Regions from separate parts of the Homo sapiens genome. Here region 2 is linked to region 1. Evidence: promoter capture Hi-C in human tissues and cell types (Jung and others, 2019). All regions are on one chromosome and are shown on one strand. Each heading gives the region's core, a stretch centred on a gene start or on the middle of the fragment in contact. The rest is flanking DNA. Distances are from core to core; before and after follow the strand shown.

Region 1 (4,201 bases), core at 785-3,284:
GGTCGGCGCCGGTGGCGCAGATGGAGACCCTCCTCAACGTTGCCGTTCCCCAGATTTGGGAGGGAGTATCTCCTCGACCCTGTCCGTGTTCTGTCCTGGAGTTCCCCAGGCCTCAGCTGCCTCTGAGATCTCGGGGTTCCTGATGAACATGTTTGCAGCTGCGAGAAACTCGGAGTGTGTCTTGTCTTTCGGGGAAAGTAGAAACCAAAAAGAAAACGGCAGCTGGTCCTAAGAAGATGGCGTTTGCTCCAACCAAATCAGCCTTGCTGCGTTAGAAAAAGAACATGCACGGAGCGTGCACATTTGCTCTTCCGTGCGTGGCACAACAGCCATGCGGTGGCCAGGAGTCATCTGGGCCGGAGTTGGGTGCTTCCCGGAAATTCCAAAGTACCCTGAGAACCTGGAAATTATTGTTCACGTTTTCTATTTTCAGACGCTTCCCCATGCAGATGTTTCCATTTTCTTCAGTCCTAAAATGATTGTGTGCCCGCTTCAAACGAATTAGTAGCAACAGAGCAGATGGAGACGAAAGGTAGCCGAATGGCCGAGTCCCAGCTGGACTTAGAAGGAGCGCGCTGGCCCTGCCGTCTCCAGGCTAGGGAGCACCGACTAGGAGGTGGGGGGGTGCAGGGAAGGCGACTTGAAGGGCTGGGGTCCCGGCTACAGCGTAGGAGCCTCCCTTCCCCGACAGGCCTGTCACTGAGGTGCGAGTCCTAGCCTGGCTGGAGTCGGAAAGGGCAGGGCAAGGCGCAGGTAAATGTGGGGCAGAGGACCCGTAGGGAAAAGGTGGGAGATGGGAGGCAGGCCGACCCCAATGAGAGAAGCGAGGGAGGCCGACCGGCAGACGGTTGGAAAGCGAGATAGGGAAAGACAAGACGAGGGTGGAGTGCGATGGAGACAGCACCATCAGGGCAGAGCAGGCCCCGCCAAATTAGAAGAAAGGGCAGAAGCTGAAAAGGTCTGCGCAGGCCGTTCAAGCCCTGCAGAGGCCCAGCCGACCTGAAACCAGAAGGGACAGCCAGGCAGCTGCTCACAGTCAGGCCTCTGGCCCCAAGGCAAGGCCGAAGCAGGTCCGCACTGCGGCCAAGGCCGCGTTCCTCGCCCGCTGGAGCTCCCGGGGACTCCGGGCCGGCTTGGGCCCGCGTCAGCACCCAGCCCTCGGGAGCGCAGGCCTCCTCCCCAGAGGTCCGACTTCCCTGGGTTGGGCAGCCGCGGCCACTCCCGGCCATCCCTCTGCGGCGAAGCCCAGGCGCCCGTGGCCTGAGGTCGCTTCCACCCACGAGAGTCCGTAGCCTGGCAGTGCGCCTGCACTGGGGATGCTCACTCGGGGTCCCCGGGCTGGAGGCCGAAGGGAAGCAGTGAAGGAAAGAGCGAACACCCTCCCCGGGCGGCCCGCGGGCACGAGGCCTGGTTTCTGTGAGGCCTGGAGCTTGCACCCTCCGCCTCCCGCCTGGAGGGCTCCGAGAGACGGTCCCAGAACCTGCGCTCCCAGAGCAGCTTCCCGGGGCTGCTTCGATGCCGGAGGAGGCTCGGGGCGCCCCCGCGGTTCAGCTCGCTGTCTCCCGCCAAGCCCGGCCCGCGACCCCGCGGCCGCCACACGTACCCAGGTGGCTGTGGAAGGGCCGCGCCGCCAGCAGCGCCTGCACGCCGAACTTCAGCAGCTCGCCCGCCGCGGCAGCGGCGGCTGCGGGCGCGGCGCCCTTGGGCCCGGGTGGCTCCGTGAGGATCTCCTCAATCATGAAGCTGCGATAGCGGTGCGGCCGGTGGTCCGCGCAGCCCTCGGGCGGGCCGAAGCGCGCGGCGCCCGGCTCCCCCGGCCGCTGCATCGCGGCGCCCACTGCTGCGCCCGCGGTTTGGCGGCGGCGGCGGCGACGGCTTGGCTCCGGCGCGGGGCCCGCGCGGGGCTCTAGGCCGGCCCGCAGCTCGGGGCGGCGCGCGGGCGCCGGCTCATGCCCCCTCCCCCGCCGGCCGGCCGGGCGGAGGCGCAGGGCGCGGGCGGGGCGCGCGGGGCTCGGCCGGTCGAACCCGGGACTGCGCCCCCTCCCCACGCCGCCGCGCCTCTTGCCCGGCCAGCCCCGCGTCACCGCCCCGCCCCGCCCCGCCCCGCGCCGCCGCCCCCAACCCCTAGGCTGAGCCGGAGGGAGGGACCCAGAAGGGAGGGAGGCGGAAGGGAGGCCAAAAAGGAGGGGGCCACGTGAAAGAGGCCGGCCGACCGAGACCGAGGGAGACTGAGCGGAGCGCACGCCCTGGAAGGAGAGAGCCGGAGAGTTCGGGAGGCAAGACCCCCAGAGACGAGAGTCGGAGGGATCAAACGACACAGGTGAGAGAAGGGGCAGAGGCAGACGGCGTGGGCCAAACAAGATTCCAGACAGTGATGTGAGGGCACCAGAGACGCCACCGAGATGTGCGCAGAGAGACCAAAAGAGGCGTGAGAGCCAGCGGGCTGTGACGTGACGGAGGGCACAGAGGCAGGCGGGGCAGAGGAAGGGGGCGGTAAAGAAATGGGAACAGCTAGAAAACCGGCGGCTTGATCGGCTTTTAGGTAGCCCCGGAAAGGTCGGGAGGAGGAGGGGCAAAGGCCGCGCTCCTCAGCTGGGAAGGAGGTGGTCTCAAGCAGCCTCCAGTCCCGGGCTCAACACCGCCAACCCGGCAAGGGTGAGGCAGCGTTCAGGGATGCAAGGGGCAGAGCGGTAGCGGCACCTGTGCACCCCTCCCACCTCTGCCTCAGTTTACCATGTACGGCCTCATTTCTCTCCGGGCTGCCCTGAGAGAAAAATGTTCTCCAGCCGAGATTTGCTTGAATTGGAAATTCAAGTGATCCATGGACACATCCTCCTTGACAGCCCCCAGAAGACTGTAGGCTGGTTACATCCCCCTAGTTAGAAAAGGAAAAGGATTCGAGGAGAAGGGAAGGATGCAGCTTTGCCTTTTCCCAGCTTTGGGGCATCAAGAAACTGTTACTGGGCGGAGTTGGGGCCAGGGGGCCAGTGGGTGCTCTGAGAGTGTAAAGACCAAACTCTGGTGGGACCTGGCTCCATTGCGGAGCCTCAAAAGCTCCAACATGGTGGAGGAAGTTGGCAGTACCTTCTCTAGATCTTTCTTTCCATCCTTAGAAGAGTATAAGCCCAAGCCGTGGAGTGAACAACCCCAAAGCTACCCTACGCTGAACTCCTCTCTTTGGTCCTGCCACTACTGGTGAAACCACTGACCCTTTCTGGGCCTGTTTCCTTACCTGTCCTGAGGAGATGCTGACCTTTGGCTCCAGAGAGACTGTGAGAACTCAGTGAGGGGGTCCTGCACTCCGAGGGTCCTGCACCCTGGGAGCCCTTAGGTCTGTTTGGAGAGAAAACAGTTCCTCCAGGCAAGAGGGGAGAAGTGTCCCCAGGAGGTTGGGGGAGGAGCATCTGCCCTCCTCCTTCTCAGGAATCACAGGGCCTACCTCCTAGCCCCATCCACCATTGCCAGTCAGCGCCTGATGCACTGGGGGTGTCCTGGGCCACCCGGACTTCCTCTGTGAGCTCCATGTGGGGCCTCAGTCTTTACCTCAGGTAACTAGGGCTTACCACACCTACAGCCATGCCCCCCACCCAAGTTGAAGTCCTTTCTCCAGCTCCAGCTGCTGGTGGGGAGGCCTTCAGGCTGGCCCTCAGTCCCTGGCACCTGCCCCAGACTCGGGAGTGGGGGTGGGGGGCAGGTGGGGACTAGGAAGTGGCCCAGATCCTTTGTCTGTAGGGCCTGGAGTGAGGACAAAGACTACCTTACTCTGGTAAGATCCCAGTCCCAAGAGCCCACTGTCTCTCCTTCCCAGTTGTTGCATGACTTTCTGAACTCAGAGTTACCATTGGGACTGAAAGAAGGTGGCCTCAATGGCCGCCAGTTGCTTCGGACTCCCTCGGAGAGTGGTGCTGTGAGCCTACATGGTTCTTTGGAAAGGGTGGAGAGGGGCGCACTAAGAGCAACAGTATCCCACACTGAGCAGGCCTCCTCCTGAGAGACCAAGAGACCAGGAAGCTGGCCCTGTCGCTGTTGGCCAAGCAGCCACTGACATCCTACCTGGCAAATAGAAACAAGCCAGTGTCTCCTGGGAGGCTGGGGCAGCCCAGTCAGGCTCCCCCTATCAACGGGTAGACTCAGAGAACCCTCCCTAGATGAGTGCAATAGTATCACTCAATCCAACCATCTCCTTTTTCAGATGGGAAAC
Region 2 (4,201 bases), core at 1,097-3,596, 150 kb before region 1:
TGGCACATGTATATCTATGTTAAAAACCTGCATGTTCTGCACATGTATCCCAGAACTTAAAATATAATAAAAATAATTTTTTAATAAAGAAAGAAAATGGCCATACTGCCCATCAAGCTACCATTGACATTCTTCACAGAATTAGAAAAAACCGTTTTGAATTTCATATGGAATCAAAGAAGACCCCATATAGCCAAGACAATCCTAAGCAAAAACAGCAAAGCTGGAGGCATCACACTACCTAACTTCAAACTATGCTACAAGGCTACAGTAACCAAAACAGCATGGTACTGGTACCAAAACAGATATGTAGACCAATGGAACAGAACGGATGCCTCAGAAATAACACCACACATCTACAACCATCTGATCTTTGACAAACCTGATAAAAACAAGCAATGGAGAAAGGATCTCCTATTCAGTAAATTGTGCTGGGAAAACTGGCTAGCCATTTGCAGAAAACTGAAACTGGACCCCTTTCTTACACCTTATACAAAAATTAACTCAAGATGGATTAAAGATTTAAATGTAAAACCCCAAACCATAAAGCACCCTAGAAGAAAACCTATAAACCTAGGCAATACCTTTCAGGACATAGGCATGTGCAAAGACTTCATGACAAAAACGCCAAAAGCAATTGCAACAATAGCCAAAATTGACAAATGGGATCTAACTAAACTAAAGAAAGAAAGTATCATCAGAGTGAGCAGGCAACCTACAGAATGGGAGAAAGGTTTTGCAACGTACCCATCTGACAAAGGCCTAATATTCAGAATTTACAAGAACTTAAACATATTTAAAAGAAAAAAAAAACCAACCCCATCAAAAAGTGGGCAAAGGATATGAACAAACACTTCTCAAAGGAAGACATTTATGCAGGCCTGGAAGCTCAGGGACCTCCACTTTGCCTCCATTAAACATTGCCTCCAACAAACATTAAAAAGAGCTCAACATCACTGATCATCAGAGAAATGCAAATCAAGACCACAATGAGATACCATCTCACGTCAGTCAGAATGGTGATTATTAAAAAGTTAGGAAACAATAGATGCTGGCTGGGCTAGGGAGAAATAGGAATGCTTTTACACTGTTGGTGGGAATGTAAATTGGTTCAACCATTGTGGAAAACAGTATGGCGATTCCTCAAGGATCTAGAACCAGAAATACCATTTGGCCCAGAAATCCCGTGACTGGGTATATACCCAAAGGAATATAAATCATTGTACTATAAAGACACATGCACATGTATGTTTGCTGCAGCACTGTTTACAATAGCAAAGACATGGAACCAACCCAAATCAATGATAGACTGGATAAAGAAAATGTGGCACATACATACCATGGAATACTATGCAGCCATAAAAAGGAAGATCATGTCCTTTGCAGGGACATGGATGAAGCTAGAAGCCATCATCCTCAGAAAACTAACACAGGAACAGAAAACCAAACACTGCCTTTTCTCACTCATAAGTGGGAGTTGAATACTCGGGAGGCTGAGGCAGGAGAATGGCATGAACCCAGGAGGCGGAGCCTACAGTGAGCCGAGATCGCGCCACTGCACTGCAGCCTGGGTGACAGAGCAAGACTCCGCCTCAAAAAAAAAAAAAAAAAAAAAAAGAACACATGGACACAGACAGGAGAACAACACACATCAGGGCCTGTTGGGGAGTAGGGGGTGAGGAGAGGAAACTTAGAGGATGGACCAATAGGTGCAGCAAACCACCATGGCACATGTATACCTGGGTAACAAACCTGCACATTCTGCACATGTATCCCATTTTTTTAAGAATAAATAAATAAATACATTAAAAATTTTTTAAAAGGAAATACCTTGCAAGGTTTCCTTCTGTTTCATAGCAGCCTGCAACTGAGCAGGTTAAGGTGCTCATCCTATGGCTCTAGGAAGGGGGTCAGCTCTCTCCTGAGGTGCTGTGTGACCCCTGGTAAGTTAATTAGGCTCTCTGTACCTCAGCCTCCTCTGTAAAATGAGGGTGATAAGAATGCCTACCTCAAAGCTTTGTTCTGAAGATTCAATTAGCTACTATATATAAACAGAGTGCTGGACACATAGCAGGTGCTACATAAATGCTTCCTGTCATTAGAGTGACTTTTGTCTGTACTTTCGGGTGTGGATGTGATTAGCTCTAAGAAGTGGAATAGGCCTAGACTTACCTTCCCTCCCTGCATGGTGCCCACTAGGGTCCTTGTCCCCATTTGTCACTCAGCCAGGGAGCCAGGTGCCCAGGTCTGCCTGCCTACATCCACAGAAGAGCCACCTTGGCCTGCCTGATCCCTGAGAAATGAGCCTCGGCTGCAGGTTTATCTCCTCCTGGGCAGTGGGCATCCTGGGCCAGCCTGAGGCTTCCTGGCCCCTCTTAAGCCTGCCCTGGGCAGATGCTCAGCTCACACCATGTAGAGGTTTCAGAGGGGGCAATGCCACTCTAGACTTGGAACCCTAACCTGCTTCCAGCCTGGTCCTGCAGTGACCAGCAGGGCAGCATGACCGCCCCCTCCCCCAGGGCACCAGTCTTCACCTCCCCTGACAATGATACCACCAAGTCCCAGGCAGTGTGGACAGACATGCTGATGTCACACAGTAGGCGCTCAAACAGGGCAGTCACAGACAGATGGGCTGCTGGAGTTTCTGAATCCTCCCCTGCCAGCTGTCCCTTCCCCTCCCATGTGTCCCCTCCCCCACCATTGTCCCCTCCGCCTGTGGGGAGTGACTGGTGGTTGTGTTTAAGTGAGTAATTTAGCCCCCGTTTAAGAAGAGGAAGCAATAATAACGGCTGTAATTGTCCAAATTACTGCTGCCCCTTCCAGTTTGACATCTGCCTAATGACGGCGGATGGAAACCTGACCCGTGGCCGCGGGTGGGTGGGTGGTGATGGCTGCTTGGAGCCGAGCGTCCAGTCCCCAAAGCTGGCAGAGGCCCTGCTGGCCTGTGCTGGAGGCTCCAGGGCTGGGGGCTTCAGTGCAGTGTCCATGGGTTCCTCTAGAATGAGTGTGAGGGACGGGCCTAATTCATCTCAGAGACTCAGAAACTAAAGCCCAGAGGGACAGCAACTGCCCCACAGCCACAGAAGGTGGCTGGACCAGGGGATGGGATGGAGATTGTTCACTGTTTGCCATTTGGTATTTTTCACATTTTGAACCAGGTACTGCATTATCGATCCAAAATTTAAAATAAACAAGACATTGCCTCTTCAGCTGAGGCTTGGATGGCTCCTGACAGTCAGAGACACCGGCTTTGATGTAAAAGTATCTAGTGGACAGCATGGGGCTCTGCTGTTGCCAAGGCCACTTGGCCAGGACCTCACTGTGAGGACACAGGGCATGAACACAGCCTCAATCTGTTGACCCTCCCCTCTGAAGGCTCTTAGGGCCAGCGGGCCCAGGAGCTCCTAGTCATGGGATTTCATGGACCTATCACTTTTTAAAAGTTAGGTCTGCTCACTCTGTGTCATCAAGGACAGACCCAATGGCCCTAACACGAACCCACTGCCATTTGTTATCTCCAAGCAGCAGAGCTCTCAGCATCAAGGACTTTCTAAGAAAGGACCATGGTGATGGCTTTGTGACCTGCCTGGTATGAACCCAGCTCCACTGTTAAAGGACAGAGGGAGCGATTGGCTGTGGGCTGAGAAGTCAGGGTAGGGGGATGGGGTTTGGGCTGAGAAGTCAGGGTTGGGGGTGGGGTTTGGGCTGAGAAGTCGGGGTCGGGGGGTAGGGTTTGCTGCAGGTGCAGCAGTTTCCAGCTACAATATCCTTGGGAAAGGCTCACTCTCAACCTCACAGCCACATCCCACAGGTCTTCTACAAGCTCAGGCTGTTGGGGACAAGGAGAGGATAAGGCAGCAGAGTTTATAGAGGATTGGGGCCCTCTCAGTCCTCCTCTGAAGGAGCGAGGAGCCCCACCTGCTCCCACTTACATAGTCGGGTTGCTTTGGGACGGCAAGGAGCTGAAACCATTGGCTTCTCAGGGGTCCCTAGAGGATCAGGGCCCATTGCTGGGGACCCCTGAAGATCAGGATCCCAATACTGATCTGGCCCAGTGGGATAAGGCTCGCCATCAGGATTAGGACGGTACTAAAAAGCTGAAGAATATGCTGTTTCTTCCACTCCTGAGTGGCTCATAACAAATATCCCTTCAGCTGCTTTTCTGGAAAACTCTGAGCTCTATATAGGCCCTTGCCTGGCA

Evidence for each region. Contacts are between HindIII fragments. The study calls those that stand out against the background at their distance.
Region 2: a contact is called between a fragment that was not itself captured here and the fragment with the promoter of BARX1 in region 1, in 1 of the 25 tissues and cell types used here (lymphoblastoid cells).

The regions. Positions count from the first base shown.
Region 1 is chr9:93,953,321-93,957,521 of GRCh38, forward strand. It overlaps BARX1 (BARX homeobox 1), which reads right to left and starts at 2,035. Exons shown (of 4, transcript NM_021570.4): 1 at 1,604-2,035. The coding sequence starts at 1,826. BARX1-DT (BARX1 divergent transcript) reads left to right here and starts at 2,514. Exons shown (of 2, transcript NR_144455.1): 1 at 2,514-3,548; 2 at 4,193-4,201. LOC124902216 (a long non-coding RNA gene) reads left to right here and starts at 2,206. Exons shown (of 3, transcript XR_007061672.1): 1 at 2,206-2,320. RefSeq lists enhancers at 1-53, 54-617, 2,029-2,560, 2,561-3,091. The HindIII fragment of the contact is 32,678 bases long and covers 1-4,201 here.
Region 2 is chr9:93,804,976-93,809,176 of GRCh38, forward strand. It overlaps LOC101928014 (a long non-coding RNA gene), which reads left to right and starts at 3,374. Exons shown (of 4, transcript NR_188449.1): 1 at 3,374-3,589. RefSeq lists an enhancer at 2,688-3,408. The HindIII fragment of the contact is 8,042 bases long and covers 1-4,201 here.